2 separate regions of the Homo sapiens genome follow, and region 2 is linked to region 1. Evidence: promoter capture Hi-C in 16 types of primary human blood cells and fetal thymus (Javierre and others, 2016). All regions are on one chromosome and are shown on one strand. The core of a region is centred on a gene start or on the middle of the fragment in contact, and the rest is flanking DNA. Distances in the headings are between cores, read along the strand shown. Region 1 holds the start of SNTA1 (syntrophin alpha 1). Region 2 overlaps CBFA2T2 (CBFA2/RUNX1 partner transcriptional co-repressor 2).

Region 1 (4,106 bases), core at 1,350-3,849:
GTCTTTACAATACCCCATCACATAGGTATGTTCAGTTTCCTATTAGGGAAACTGAAGTGTGGAGGGAAGCCCCTTGTCCAAGGTCACTCCACTAGTAAGTAGCGAAGCCAGTATTTGCACCTAGGCCTCCAGGCTCCAGAACCAACACTATTAGCCCTACCACAGACGACAAGTCAGGCCCTCAGATATCACACTCCTGGCTCATCCCCAGAATACTGAAGATGAAGAATTAGTGGCCCAGAGTGGGAGGTCATTGTTCCAAGGTCACACAAGTCTGGTGGCGGAGCTGGGACTGGAACACCTCTCTTGACGCCCACACAGGCCCGACCGTTTGCTTATCTGCACAGAGCTTGAAGTCTAGGAGAGGAAGGGGTTTCTATTTATATCTGCCCTCCCCCACCTGAAACTAGGGGCTTCAGTTCAGTTTGAAGCTATGATCACTCATGGCTGCCTCAGACTAAGCTAGACTTTATAGGAGGGGTTACCATGGCAACAGGAGCCCAGATTTGGATCCAATGGAAATACCTGAAGTCTCCTAAAAGTACCCTCCCCTCCACCTAGAATTATGGAGCTGGGGAGTAACTTTGTGTGACCTTGCAAAGTCCCTGCTCCTCTCTGAGTCTCAGTGTGTCCATCTGCAGAATGGAATTCTGTATGAATAAGTTCCTTCCTGCTTTGACACACTGAGTGTATAATTTTTGGATTCATCTGTTGCCCTATCCCATGCTGGAGATTGGGGGTAAGACTGGTGCCCATACCCTCATTTTCTCATTTCTCCTTTTTAGCCCCTCTTGGTTGGCTGCCTGGGGATCTGCCCTTCTACAGGAAAGAATCAACTTCCCTGAGCACTCTCTGAGGGACAGTAGCTGATAATTAAGGTTCAAATCCCAGCACTGACACTCACTATGTAATCGTGGGAAAATCATTTTAACTTTCTGAGTCTCAGTTTCTTCACCTGCAATATGGGAATTATACTCCCTACCTTTCACCACTTGTTGCCAGGATGAAGTGGATCATGAGACTAGTGTCCTGGGCACAGCACCTGGCACACAGTGGTGGCATTCACCACCATCCCCACCGCCTCAGCCAAGCCAAACGGTCTGGAGGCACTAGTCAACAGAACCAGTACCAGGGAGACCCCAGAGGGTACGGTATGTATTCAAGGTGGAGACAAAGGCTGATACCCTTTCCCAAAGCACCTGCTGGGGGCTGGGACCCTGAGAAACAGATGGGCAGGAATAGTGAACCCAGCAGCTGGGGGTGTGCAAGGATTTTAACAACTATGTTTAGTTGCTTTGGGAGTATCTGCTGGCCTCCATTTTTCCTCTCCGCTAACAGCAGTAATTAACTAGGCACCTACAGTGTGCTGGTGTGGTGAGCCCTGCTCTCAGAAACATCACAACTCTGTCATCCTCTTATACAGTTGAGGAAACAGATTCAGAGGCGGGACGGGACTTTTGCAACCTCACACAGCTGATCCTGGATTCAAACACAGTCTGGTTGCACCCTAACTGCACCCCACTAGCGGTCAGTCCTGGGGGCTGAAAGCTCTATCCTGTGCAAGGTGGAGATAGTCAGATCAGGAGACCCAAATCCAGCTGTCAGGGCTCCCTGCAGCCTTCCTGGGTCCTTAGATTCCTAGGTCCTTGCTGGCCTTCTGCCTGTGACCCCAGCCTGTGCCTGCACCCAGGCCTCCTATCCACCCCTGTGCTTCCCAGACTCCAGGCTTCCCCTCTGCACCCACCTTGGTTGCTTCTCAGGGACTCCCTCCTCCCTGTCCCACTGGTGTCCCGGCCTCAACCCCCTTTCTCCACACTCTGCTTTCCGGGGGACCCCTCTTGTCCTTGATGTTCATGCTGGTTACCCCTCAGACCCCCCCGCCTCCACACAGAACTCCCACCCACGTGTCCTTGGTGCTCCCACAATCTTATCCACACCTGTGTCTTCCGTGCCCCCTAAGGCCACCAACTACTGAAACCCCCTCCAACCTTGGTGTGCCCAGTGCCCTCCGTTACCTGTTTCCTCAGACCCCCCTTACCCCCAGACAGGAAGCCTCCAGCTCCATGTCCTGGGCGCGCTGCCAGCCCCCTGCGCCCTCGGCTGCCCCCAGACACCACGACCCCGCGCCCTCGGTGTCCCGCGCCCACCTTTGATGCTGATGCCCAGCCCACCGGCGTCGGCCTTGCGCACCGTCACGCGGCGCCGCTGGAGCAGTAGCGCCTCTGGCAGCTGCGGGGGCCCGGCGCCCGGCTCCGCGGCGCCGTTGAGCTGCGCGGGCTCCTGCTCCCGCGGAGCGCCGGGCTCGGGACCAGGGTCGCCGTCGGCGGGGCTCACGGTCAGCACGTCCTCCGCCAGACTCAGCAGCACCCGCTGCCATCGCTCGCCGCCGGCCCCCGAGCCCGCCCCGGCGCGCAGCTCCAGCAGCCCGGTGCGCGGGGCGCGCCTGCCGGACGCCATCTTCGCCTCCGAGCCCCCGGGCCGCCGCGCTCGCCCTGTCCCGCTTTGCCCAGCCCGCTCCGACCAAGCGCCCAGGGCAGAGGGCAGCGGGGGCCCGGCTGGGCCAGCCGCCACCCTACCCCGGCCGCTGGGGGAGGAGCTCTGGGGGCGGGGCTACCCTGGGGTGTGGCCAGTGCTGGGGAGGGGGCCTCGGGCAAATGCAGGAGGCCGGGGCGGGGCCCGGGAGCCGAGGGCCGCCGTGTGGGACTACCTAGCGGGGTGGGTCAGAAGGGCGGCGGGGCGGGCCACTAAGTAAGGCGAAAGCCCGGGAGGCGTGGTGCTGGGCGGGGCGTCAGGGGGCGGGGCTTCGCGTCGGGGGCGGAACCCAGTGAGCCCGCGCAGGGGGCTCGGCGCTCGGAATGCCCATCGAGGGCCGGGACTGTAACTCCCGGACGTGGGAGCGCATGAAAAAGAGACAGAACCACGTATCCTGGTGCGAAGCACTGGGCATCGGGCTGGGCTGCATATGGCGGAGGGCTGGGCTGCGTATGGTAGAGCGTTGGACTCCAAGGCTTGAGTTTAAGAGGTAGACACCGTCTGGGCGTGGAGGCTCACGCCTGTAATCCCAACACTTTGGGAGGCCTAGATGACAGCCCAGAAGCTCGAGGCTGCAGTAAGCCGCGATCGCGCCACTGCACTCCAGCCTGGGTGACAGAGCGAAACCCTGTGTCAAAAAAAAAAAAAAAAAAAAAAGGTAGATGCTGAGCCGCGAGAGACCTTGCGGGCACAGTTGCTAGTTGGGGAGCTGAGGAAGAAGTTGGTTTCCTATCGGGGAGGGCGGGGGATGGGGGGTGGGGGTCGAGGCTTTGGTCTGTGGGCGTGGCTTATCGCTGGCGTGGCTTCTAAAGATGACAGGCCCCGCCCCCTGGAGGAGACCGCTACCGACACCGCTTAGGGCTTGGGGGAGGTGTGGGCAGGATCCCCACTTCAAAACTGGAGGGAAGTTTAAGAGATTAACCCCTGGCTGTGTTCACAGTCGAGTATAGAAAAGCCTGAAGTCCCACACTTTGAGGCCTGGCAGAAAAAAAACAGAACTGGTGTGTGGGAAGAGGGTTGCAAGGTGGGGCTCTGGGTCTGGGCGACTGGAGACATGGTTTCTAATCTTTGCTGCCTCTGTTAGCTCCAAGTCGACTTTGGTCCCCTCACGTCACTGCTCTAGGCCTCAATTTCCTCATCTGTAAAATGTGGATCATAATAATACCTACTTCACTGGGCTGGTGTGAGGATTAAATCAATGTGAAAACACGTGGTAAACTGTGACTCCCTATTCTATAGAAATAATCACTTTCATTTAGTGAATGCTTACTCTTACCTAGGGCTGGCAGAATATTTTCCAAGTGTTATCTTTACATTAGCCTCCTGGAGTAGCTAAGAGCACCCCCAGCTGGGCACAGTGGCTCACACCTGTAATCACAGCTGAGGTGGCAGGATCGCTTGAGCCTTGGAGGTCCAGGCTGCAGTGAGCTGTGATTGCACCATCACACTCCAGCCTTGGTGACAGAGCAAGAAAAAAGAGCACCCCTATTATACAGAAGGGAAAACTTGGATTTAGTCTAATTGGCCTAGGTCACACATTTATGAGTGAGGAAGAGCTGCGATTCAAACCCAGG
Region 2 (3,745 bases), core at 475-2,974, 160 kb after region 1:
ATTTGGAGATACTTTTCTACAAATACCATTGTGTCCCATCAATGCACAAAAATGTTCCTTGTTGCCAGGATCGTGAACACTCTTGTATGTATTGTCTTTATAGCTGTGCTCTCACAGAAGGAAAACTTGGACTTTACCTTCTTATTTGAGCCTTTGCTCCCCATTTTTTACACTTTAATTTGAATTCAGCAGTTATTGGAGAATGAATGGCTGGTACTTAAGTGAAAAGCTTAGAATTACTGTGAGGAACATAGCTCAATTTAAAGGTGATTATGGTAACCCTGGTCGTATTATTAACTAAGTATGTAACAAGTTCTCTTTGATAGGGAAAAATAACTTGTTAGATATATTAGAATATTACTCATTGGTATCAAGTCTGATTCCTGTTAGCTCAGACCTACCTAATTGCAGCATCATGAAGTTTATCTAATTTATCTTTCTGGAATTTTGTTGCCATTTAGTATTATCAAACAACTGCCTATTATTAATTGTTCCCATAGATGAAGTAGCCTCTGCTTCATGTAGACTCAGCTCTACTTTTCATCTTTTTGAACAATGTATAGCATGAATGACATTTACATGTTTGAGGTCAGAGAGGTTGACTCCCTCTTTTTTCCTACTTGATGTAGTTGATATGTATATATATAATTTAGTACATCATTATTAATGGTGATTTTTTTTTTTTTAAGACAGAGTCGCTCTGTCACCCAGGCTAGAGTGCAGTGGCATGATCTTGGCTCACTGCAACCTCCGCCTCCCAGGTTCAAGCGATTCTCTTGCCTCAGCCTCCTGAGTAACTGGGACTACAGGTGCCCACCACCACACCCAGCTAATTTTTATATTTTTAGTAGAGACAGGGTTTCACCATGTTGGCCAGGCTGATCTCAAACTCCTGACCTTAGGTGATCCACCCGCCTCAGCCTCCCAAAGTGCTAGGTTTACAGGCATGAGCCACCGTGCCCAGCCTATTAATATTGATTTATATATAACTGATTGATTTTCTTTTCATGTCTTGCAGTTGAGGCCTAAGTCTAGATAGTTCCCATGTTAGCTTTTTCACCCCTAATAATTTGATTCATTTATAAGGAGAAGTTAAAGAAAATGCATTTGAGGTAAGCTATATTTGTAACCTGGTTTCTTCCTTTCTCAGCCACTATCTAAAGACTGCTAACTTTCAGTTCACATCACCTCTTGACCTTGTTTCCTCATTTTAGTTCCTAGGGTTGAAGTAACAAAGTACCACTAACTGAGTGGCTTAAGACAATAGAAATTCATTCTCTCACAGTTCAGAAAGCCAGAGGCCCAAAATTGAGGTATCAGCAAGGTTGATTCCTTCCCGGGGTTTCAGAGGACAAATGTGTCCCCTTCTCCCTCCTGGCTTGCTGGTTGCTGGCACTCCTTGGCATTCCTCGGTGTATAGATGTGTCACTCTAGTCCCTGCCTCTGTCGCCACTTGGTGTGACTGTCCTCTCTTTGGCTTCCCTCTGTGTATGTCTCTGTGTCTGTGTCTCATCCCTTCTTTAAGGACACCATTCAGATTGGATTTAGAGCCCACCCAGACAATCTAGGATGATCTCATCCTCTCAAGATTTTTAACTTAATGATATCTTCAAAGACCCTTTTGCCAAATCAGGTAACATTCACAGTTCCAGATGTTGGGATGTGGACATATCTTTTAGGGGGTCACTATTCAGCCTATTATACCAAGCAGTCCTCTAGGGAAGTATGTTGGTATTTCAAATTGTTGTCTGTTTTTGCAAACTTTTAGAAAACCCTAACCTCCATTTCTCTGATTCTCTGCAGTTGGTCCTGAGAAAAGGGTGCCAGCGATGCCTGGATCGCCTGTGGAAGTGAAGATACAGTCCAGATCCTCACCTCCCACCATGCCACCCCTCCCACCAATAAATCCTGGAGGACCGAGGCCAGTGTCCTTCACTCCTACTGCATGTGAGACCTCTTAGTTACTTATGTTTGTAGTTCAGAGTGACATTTGGATCTAAGTGACTGACTTGTATGAAGCGTTCCACATATATTATTCAGTGTTTTCAAAGTACTATTGAAAATATAGACACAGATATATATTTCTGGTTGTTTCTTTTATAAATTACTTTTACCCTCTGAGAATAATACTTAGCTTATTTGGATATTTAGTTGTTTAAATATTTTGTTTTCATATTCTTTGGCTGGTAACTATTTTTATTTCTTTGACTCTAACAATAATGAATTTAAATTATTATATTGCCTTATGGGATTCCAAGTAAGTTTTCTAAAATTATAGAATTCTAAAAATGTTCCAGTGCTGTCATGGTAAGACTTTTTACAAAAGAGAATATTGTTGTATTTGTTTACTAGGGCTGCCATAATGAAATACCACAGACTGGATGGTTTAAACAATTTATTTTTATTCACTTTTTCACAGTTCTGGAGGCAAGAATGTAAAGATCAAGGTATTGGCAGGTTTGGTTTTACCTGGGCCTTGTAGATGGTTGCCTTCTTGCCATATCCTCACATGGTCTTTCCTCCATTTTGCGTCCCTGGTGTCTCTTCCCCTGCCTTTAAGGATAATAATCATATTGGATTAGGGACTACTCATAATACCTCTTTTAACCTTAATGAACTCTTCAAAGTATCTCCAAATATAGTCCTATTCTGAGGTACAAGGGGTAAGACTTCAATGTATGAATTTGGCCAAGGCTCGGGCAGAATTCAGTCCATAACCATTATGTTAGCTAATAATATATGTAACAATATATTCAACTTCACTAACCATCAAGGAAATGCAAACTAACACCCAATACAGTACCATTATACACCCACCAGGATGTTCAAAATGATACCAAGTTTTGGTGAGGATGTATGGAGCAACTTGAACACTCATACAATGCTGGTTGGAGTGTAATTTAGTACATCTTTTGGAAATTGGCAGTTTGCACTAATGCTGAATTTCCACGTGCCCTGTAACTCAACAATTTCAGTCCTATATATCTATAATCACCAAAAGAACCCCAAATAAACTAGTATACATACATGCACACAAGTGTCTTGATCTTCATTTGAGTTCTACCTTTCCATGCACATGCTGCCGTCCCCAGTTCACTTTGACACTCTGCAGATCTTTTGCCTGTAAACCAAAATGTACTGCTATTTTTGGAATGCCCAAAAAGTGTCAGAGCACTGAGCTAGATGCTGTATGTATTGTTTCATTTAAATGCCATTACACAAGCTTGCACACTGTCCTTGCTCAAAATTTTTTGTTTTTTGTGTTTATTATTTTAAAAGGCAAGAGAAGAGAATGTAAGATGTACAGCTTTAATTGGAAGTTTATTATTTTCCAAAACATTTGAAATGGAGTAGCTGGTAACTGTAGCATTCAGTTTGAGCCAGAGTGAATGAAAAGAAGTGTGATATCCCTTTTCTTAAATTCTAATTTCTATCTCAAAGTTGAACAGCCCTAGACATATATACTATCTTGAAAAGAAACAGATTTAAACCTCAGCCATCAATCAGATTTCAAGATACACCAATAGGTATATGTATATACAAATTCAGCCCTTTTTACTTCCATATTTGGCTGCTTGGCGGTGGTTGTGTTTCATTTCAGAAAATGTGATCATACATTTTTTTCTAAAGAGACTACGAAAAAGCCTTTCTATACATCAGAGAAGCTAAAAGCATGGTAATGTGTTATTTTTATTGGTTCCTTCAAAATGGAGCAACTTTCCAATGGCAATTGACCTTTCTGTGA

Evidence for each region. Contacts are between HindIII fragments. The CHiCAGO score rates a contact against its expected background, and 5 or more counts as called.
Region 2: a contact is called between a fragment that was not itself captured here and the fragment with the promoter of SNTA1 in region 1, in 1 of 17 cell types (total B cells). The highest score is 5.1, in total B cells.

Annotation. Positions count from the first base shown.
Region 1 is chr20:33,441,164-33,445,269 of GRCh38, forward strand. SNTA1 (syntrophin alpha 1) reads right to left here and starts at 2,600. Exons shown (of 8, transcript NM_003098.3): 1 at 2,148-2,600. The coding sequence starts at 2,457. RefSeq lists silencers at 2,146-2,205, 2,316-2,795 and enhancers at 3,026-3,095, 3,074-3,574, 3,546-3,605. The HindIII fragment of the contact is 9,847 bases long and covers 1-4,106 here.
Region 2 is chr20:33,605,153-33,608,897 of GRCh38, forward strand. CBFA2T2 (CBFA2/RUNX1 partner transcriptional co-repressor 2) reads left to right here. Exons shown (of 11, transcript NM_001032999.3): 2 at 1,804-1,947. Among named protein-coding and RNA genes, the nearest start is that of C20orf144, 55 kb to the right of the region's middle. RefSeq lists a silencer at 1,457-1,506. The HindIII fragment of the contact is 2,994 bases long and covers 228-3,221 here.